2 separate regions of the Homo sapiens genome follow, and region 1 is linked to region 2. The links are contacts of gene promoters, found by promoter capture Hi-C in human tissues and cell types (Jung and others, 2019). All regions are on one chromosome and are shown on one strand. The core of a region is centred on a gene start or on the middle of the fragment in contact, and the rest is flanking DNA. Distances in the headings are between cores, read along the strand shown. Region 1 overlaps GRM1 (glutamate metabotropic receptor 1). Region 2 holds the start of RAB32 (RAB32, member RAS oncogene family).

Region 1 (3,618 bases), core at 34-2,533, 350 kb before region 2:
TAGGCCAGAGCCACAAATAAGCATGGAGTCTGAAGTTAGTTTATAAATGTTTTGTTAGACTCCTCAAGCCAAGCTACTAATTTTAAAACATTTTGAACTAGTAAACATCCTGGGAGTGTTAAGAAAGCAAAGATGAAACAATTATGTAATAACCAAACTGGGGTCCATGAGATTCTTAAGGGAAAAAAGTTTCACTAAAAATGAGCTCATGAGAAAAAGTAGAAAGTACACGAGGCGATATCACACCTTGAGGGAGTTGGCCAACACGAATTCAGGAGGAGCAGCTCTCTCAAAACGAGATTACGGAACAGCCACAAAGAGGCTGGGTAATATTTACTGCACAGTTGAAGTAACTTAAAAAGTAAAAAGAGGAATAGAATCACAAATAATAAGAAAAGACAATTTTTGGTCACCATGTTTTGTTGTTTTTACCTCTTCAATGGTTTTTTGGCTCTGTCTCCTCATCTCCATCCGTATTGCCACTACTTCAGTTCAGGCCTTCATCATTTCTCATTTGGATTACTGCCACAACCTCCTAATTGACTTTCTTGGCTGAGCATTGCAATTTTCTCTCTCCCCAATCTTGTTTGTATTCCCACTTGTTCTTCACATTGCTATATCAAAACACATCACCCCTCTGATTTACGTATTATAGGCTGATTTTAGTCTTTGGGATGTAGTTCAAGCTCCTTGGAATTGTATTCATAGCTCCTTAAGATTGGACCCTAGACCACCTCTTCAATATCATCACACAGCTGCCTCATCCTCCATGCACTTGCCATTCTCTCTCTCTCACCTCTGTGCCTCTGCATGCTCTATCTCTGCTGTTTGGAAAGGTCTCCAAGTCTCCTTTGCCTAGGTCAGTTCCCCTTTCAGGAAGCTTCATTGATTCATCTTCTCCACAGCCTCTTCCTTAGTCTGGATTAGGCTTCTTGCCATCGTGCCCCCATTCCTTTCAGTGTCTTCTCTGTCATGGCATTACCATGGGTGTCTTGATGGTCTGTGGACCGGGGTGATCCCTACTGGATTGTGGGTTCCTTGAGGGCAAGGACCAGGTCTTGCTTGTATTTGCTTCCTGCACATTTGGCATAGTGTCTGGCACAGGTGATGAAGCCTGTGCTATTAGTGAGTGAGGTGGTTTACTGGATGGTTTCCTCTTCGGTGATTCCTCTCTGTTTAACCCTCTTACTGATTTGATTTCCAACTTAAGCTGAAGCCTTTCTCAGCTATCTTTCTTAAGTATTAAAAGTGGATTTGATTTGCTTCTAAGAATCCTCCATCCCTAGTTTCAGGGTCACATCACTGTCCCTTTATGATCATCTACAAGGGGTCACACTTGACAGTTTTACCTAAATAATTACATAAAGGGAGAAAATATTGAATCCTTTCTGTTTTCTATCTTGTTTCTTTAATTAATCTTTTTGTTTTGTGTGATCTCTTTTGCTTTTCCCAATTTCTCTTCTTTTTTTCAGATATTTTCTTCATTCCCGTATCCATCTTTGGTTGGATCTTTTCTGTTTCCTTTCTTTCATGCTGACACTAAAAGCAATCTATCACCTTTTGTTCTTTCCTGTCAGTCAATCTCTGGTCCGTGACAGATTAACTTTGACAAGTTTTTGTGCTGAATATAAATGGTTTCTCTCTGTGTTTAAAAGGGAACACACAGCACACAAACAAGCTGGGGAAAGGACTATTTATCACATAAGTAGTTGGAAAAATTGGGATAAACATATTGATCTATTGCAATCTTTTGTTTGTGCTAAGACCAAGTAAGTAATTATTCAGACTACTTACTAACCTCCTCACAATTTAAGATTGCTTAACTTTCAGTGTAAACAAATTTTATTGTGGTCTAAGACAATTTCCAAATGCTAGCGTTCACTTATTGAAAAGGGGAAAGTCTGTGGAATAATAATGTTCTGCCATCCTCCTTTTAATGAGAATGGTTATGGTAACATTTTGAAATAAATATGTCATAACAACTATATGACAGTATGTTGAAATAGGATAAATGGGATTATTATCTGGGTTTACAATTAGCATAACCAAACTGTAGAATAATAATGGGACATACATGGAGGAAAATGTTACCCTGGTTAAAGAAGCTGGGCACTAAAATCTACACAGCTGGGTCAGAATTCTGGTTCTATAATTTATTAGGCACTTGGCCTTATACAAAACCTCAGGTTCCTCATATGTCAATTAGGCTAAGGATTAAAAGGAACAATGTATTATTTAGCATGAATTCCTGGCATATAAAATACCCGATATATGTAAGTATGAAATTAAAATAATGATTGTCGTTAGCTTATCTCTCTCATCCTCCTGTTCCCTTCATTATTGCCATCCAACTTAAATGCCTACTTTCAAAATTCTCACTATTCTTACTCTTTCTAAACCAGTAACCAGCACATTTAAACTGTGTTGTGACCAATTAGTGGGTTATGAAGTCAATTTACTGATCTTTATTTTTAAATGTAATACAATAGAAAATATTAGAGTGAATTGTATGTACTAGCAAAAAGTATTTTTGTGAAACTTTTTAGTTATACATATGGTCTGACTGACATTTTAAACAGGCTTTTCTGCCTGCTATATGGACTGTGGGCTCTAGGTGGGCACAGCTGGAAGAAGGAGCTTTTACTATCATCCAAGTGAGTGATTGTGAGGAAGATGACCGGCATAGAAGAAATAGTTGTGGGTGAAAAGTGGCCAGATTAAGGATAGAGTTCATGGTAGAGGCAACAGGTTTTGTTAACTACTGGATGTAAGGTAAAAATTTTTTGTTGTACCAAGCGACTGGAAAAATGGATTTGCCATTTTCTGAGATGAGGATGCCCCTAAGTGGGGTAGGTTTGTGGACTAGAACAGAGAAAGATAAATTTTGAGTATATTAAATTTAAGATGCCTATTATTATGGATGTGAAGATGTTAAATAGACAGTTAGATATACAAGTCTAAATTCAAAGGTGAGCTCTGGGCTGAAGATGCACATTTGGGAGTCATTAGGATATATATACTATTTGAAATCATGTGTCTGGATGAGATCATCAAGGTTGTGAGTGGAATTTAGAGAAGGGATGTTGTCCAAGGACTGAACCCTGGGGTACTGTGACATCTAGACCATGAGAAAATAACTACAAGCAAGTAAAGAGACTGAGACACTGCAGCCAATGAGAGGGAGATTAACACCTAGGAGAGTGTGGTGTCCTAAAGCCGAGTGAAAAAAAGTACAACTGGAGTGAGTGGTCACCTGTGTCAAGGGCTGTCAGTGGATCACAAGGTGGAGATGATGTATTTAGCCACTGATGCTTATTGATGATGCACACAAGCACCATTTTGGTAGGGTGGAAGCAAAAGTGTGAGATACATATTTTGTGTGTCTCAGGTTTTACAACATGTAATTGTTATAATGCAATACATTTTTTGTTCTTACCTTTTTTTTTAACATCATGTTTTTAAAATGCATTCTAGGTCATACGTCTAGGTTGTTGCTTTTTACTTGCGCATTCTACTGTATTTTTAACTCCATTTCTCTGATGATGGAGACCTATGTAGTTTCTAAGTCACTGCCCTAGTGAACTTTCCTGTCCCCTTTTAGTCTTGTGCTAGTATTTC
Region 2 (3,927 bases), core at 1,206-3,705:
GGTAAGCAGCTGCTTTAGTTTATTTAAGGAAGCTGCCAGATGATGTCAGCTCCAGGTGTTTCTAAATATTAAGGTGATGGGGTGCATCCCTCAACTTTATAGATAGAGAAAGCAAGGGGCTGTCCCCCATGTTTCTTCTTTAAAATAAAAACCCACAAGTCTACTACTTTCCAATCAATTTCCTATGATTTATCTTAGAGCATTTACATCTAATCCAAACACTACCAGATGAAGGTTGAAAAAGGATTGTTAGGGAAGTAAAGTAAGATGGCTTCAGAGTCCCTGTGTCTTCTTTCTCAAACTCCTTCCATAATTTAAATGCTAAAGCATGATAAGGTTTTTAATAGACTATTTTGTTGTGTGTGTGTGTATATATATATATATCTATATCTAAGGTATACGGCATGATGCTTTGATATACATAGTGAAATAGTTACTAGAGTTAAGCAAATTAACAAATTAACATGTCCATCATCTCACATAGTTACACAATTTTTTCTTTTCATTTTTTCTTTTCTTTTTTTTTTTTTTTTTTTTTGAGATGGTCTCACTCTGTCGCCCAGGTGGAATACAGTGGTGCGATTAAGCTCACTGAAGCCTGGACCTCCCAGGCTCAGGTAGTCGTCCCACCTCAGTCTTCTGGGTAGCTGGGACTACAGGTGGGTGCCACCACACCTGGCTGCAATTTTTTTTTAATGGTAACAGCACTTACAGTCTACTCTCTTAGCAAATTTCCAGTTTAAAATACAATATTATTAACTATAACGCTCATGCTACATTAGATCATTAGGACTCATTCATCCTATATAACTGCAACTTTGTACACTTTGACCTGCATCATTCCGTTTCTTCCCTGCCCCTGGTAACCACCACTGTTTCCACGTATTCCGTGTGTGTGTGTGTGTGTGTGTGTGTGTTTAAGATTCCACATATAAGTGATATTGCACAGTATCTTTCTTTTTGTGTCTGGCTTATTTCGCTTAGCATAATGTCCTCCAGGTTTATCCATGTTGTTGCAAATGTCAGGATCGCCTTCTAAAGGCTGAATGATATTCCATTGTGTGTGTGTGTGCGTCTGTGTATATGCGCGCGTGCATGCCTATGTATGTATTACAATTTCTTTATCCATTCATCGTTAACAGACACTTTGGTTGTTTCCAAATCTTCGCAACTGTGAATAATGCTGCATGAACTTGAGAGCGATTTCTGAGATCCTGATTTCATTTCCTTTGAGTATACACCCAGAAGAGGGATAGCTGGGTCACTGGCTTTAGCAACGATTTTTGCAATATCACACCAAAAGCCCAGGCAACCAAAGCAAACCTAGATAAATGGGACTTCATCCAACTAAAATGCTTCTGCACCGCATAGGAAATAATCAACAAAATGAAAAAACAGCCTATAGATTGGGAGAAAATATTTGTGAGCCATATATCTGATAAGGGGTTAATATCCAAAATACATTACGTTCACAGAACTCAGCCAAAATAAATAAATAAAACACCCAGTTAACTAACGGGCAAAGGATGTGAATGGACTTTTTTTTTTTTTCCAGAGGAAGTACAAATTGCCAACAGGTATAAGAAAAGGCGCTCAAAATCACTAATGAACAGGGAAAAGCCACTAGGTATCTCCTCACACCTGCTAGGATGACTGTTATAAAAAAGATAAGCGATAATAAGTGTCGGTGATGTGCGGAGCAAAGGGAACCTTGTACACTGGTGGTGGGAATGCGGACTGGAACAGCCATTATGGAAAACCCTACGGAGGTTCACTCAAAAAGTTAAAAACAGAACTACCAGCCCAGTGTTATCCGTCCTTCGTTAAGTTCAAAGTCACGGTGCCACTTCCTTTCCCATCTAAAGGGGACTGCTCGCGACCCAAGCCAAGGCCCGCAAGTGTGGCTCTCCCTGCGGGGAGAGTAGGGCAGGAGGTGGATTTCCAGGCCAGAGGCTTCCAGGCTGGGCCCGGACCCCACGCCGACCCCGGCCCCGGGGGGGGCTCAGCGACCTCGGCGCCTCCTCAGGCCCCCAGTGAACCTCCGGGGCCCATAAAGGCTCCAGGCCGGCTCCCCGGAGGCCCACCAGCGGGCGTCTGGGCCTCCCTCCGCGCCGCGACCGCCAGGAGGCGCCGCCCGGGAGAGGAAGTCCAGCTGGGCCCGGCCGGGCTTCGGAGGCGCCGCCCGGGAGAGGAAGTCCAGTTGGGCCCGGCCGGGCTTCAGAGGCGCAGGGCGGGAGCCGCCTCGCGCAGGGTCCTCCCCAAGCCGGCGCCAGGCCCTGCCCTCGTCCGGCCCTGCCCTCGTCTGGCCCCGCCCGGGCCGCGAGCACTGGCGGGTTCTGGGTCCTGTGACCGGTCAGGCGGCGTCAGCGGGCGCGGCGGAGGGCTGGCCGGCCTCGGGGGAGTTTCCGCGGCCGCCGGGGGCGCGGCGGCAGAGCGCGAGGCCGGGCAGGGGGCCAGACTCGGAGTCGAGGCGCGCCCGACAGCCGCAGCGCTCATGGCGGGCGGAGGAGCCGGGGACCCCGGCCTGGGGGCGGCCGCCGCCCCAGCGCCCGAGACCCGCGAGCACCTCTTCAAGGTGCTGGTGATCGGCGAGCTTGGCGTGGGCAAGACCAGCATCATCAAGCGCTACGTCCACCAGCTCTTCTCCCAGCACTACCGGGCCACCATCGGGGTGGACTTCGCCCTCAAGGTCCTCAACTGGGACAGCAGGACTCTGGTGCGCCTGCAGCTGTGGGACATCGCGGGTAAGCGCGGCCGCGAGTTTCCCACTCCAGAGCCCCGCCGGGCCGCCTGGCTCCTCTCTGCTTCTTTTCTTTTTCTTTTCTGCCTGAACTCGTCTGCCTGGGTACCTTTAGGAGAAGAGAGAGGCCCAATCCAAGGGCGAGATGCGATGGACGCGGTCGGCTGGACTCGGTGGGGCCCAGAGGATGGGATGGGCAGTAGGAGTTGGAGCAGGTCCTGCACGCCAGAGCTCGCTCTCCTGAAGGGAGGCGAGGAGGCCAGGGGGCCTTTTCCAGAAGTTTGAACTCTGAATAATGCAAGTATATCATACATACACCAGGACTAGTTGAGAAGGCTGCTTTGGAGCGGGCCGGCGCCTCTCAGCCTCAACTCAAGTTCAGAGGGATTGGGTGACTTAACCCGAAGCTGCACTCCTAGTTAGTGACACCACCAAGACCAAAAGCCAGGTTCCTTTCCAGATCATTTTCCACCACCCGCCTTGGCTCTGAGACTGGCCTTTGTGAGGGAAACTCCATTCCTCAAATACTTTGCTCTCATCGGAAGCCGAGGACAGACACTCCGTGAAGATTTGGGAAAGCTTTTCTGAAACCTTACACTCACCCCTTCCTCTCTTGCTAAACCAACACCTAGTCCCATCCCTGGTGCCCTCGCCCCCCCCCGCCCCCCCCCCACTCCTCAATACAGTGTTTCTCTGCCATTTGCTTTCATTTGTTCTGTTTGAGGGGGTACATTTCCCTCTGCTCTGATTTATGAACACTTGAACTTTGCCTGGTGTGGTGGTTGGGAGTGGGCGTTTTAAAGATGATGTTAACTATTGGAAAGTTCATAGAAATGGTACCAAGCCAAGTGCCAGTGGCTCACGCCTGTAATCCCAGCACTTTGGAAGGCCTAGACTGGAGGATCGCATGAGCACAGGAGTTCGAGACCAGCCTGGGCTGTTAGTGAGACCCTGTCTCTACAAAATACATACATACATATATACATACATACATACAAAAAATTAGACAAGTGTGGTCGTGCGTGCCTGTAGTCCCAGCTACTCAGGAGCCTGAGGCAGGAGGATCACTTGACCCTAGGAGAGGTCAAGGCTTCAGTGAGCTGTGTTCTCACTGCTGTACTCCAGCCTGGTCAACAGAGTGAGACCCTATCTCAGAAAAAAAAAAAAAAAGTACGAAAATTACTCTG

The links. The method cuts DNA at HindIII sites, captures the fragments that hold promoters and counts their contacts. A contact is called where the count stands out against the background at its distance.
Region 1: a fragment that was not itself captured here is called in contact with the fragment with the promoter of RAB32 in region 2 in 2 of the 25 tissues and cell types used here (mesendoderm cells and thymus).

Annotation. Positions count from the first base shown.
Region 1 is chr6:146,190,255-146,193,872 of GRCh38, forward strand. All of the region lies in intron 2 of GRM1 (glutamate metabotropic receptor 1), which reads left to right. Among named protein-coding and RNA genes, the nearest start is that of GRM1, 160 kb to the left of the region's middle. The HindIII fragment of the contact is 3,268 bases long and covers 1-2,917 here.
Region 2 is chr6:146,541,378-146,545,304 of GRCh38, forward strand. RAB32 (RAB32, member RAS oncogene family) reads left to right here and starts at 2,456. Exons shown (of 3, transcript NM_006834.5): 1 at 2,456-2,744. The coding sequence starts at 2,495. RefSeq lists a silencer at 2,030-2,409. The HindIII fragment of the contact is 12,240 bases long and covers 1-3,927 here.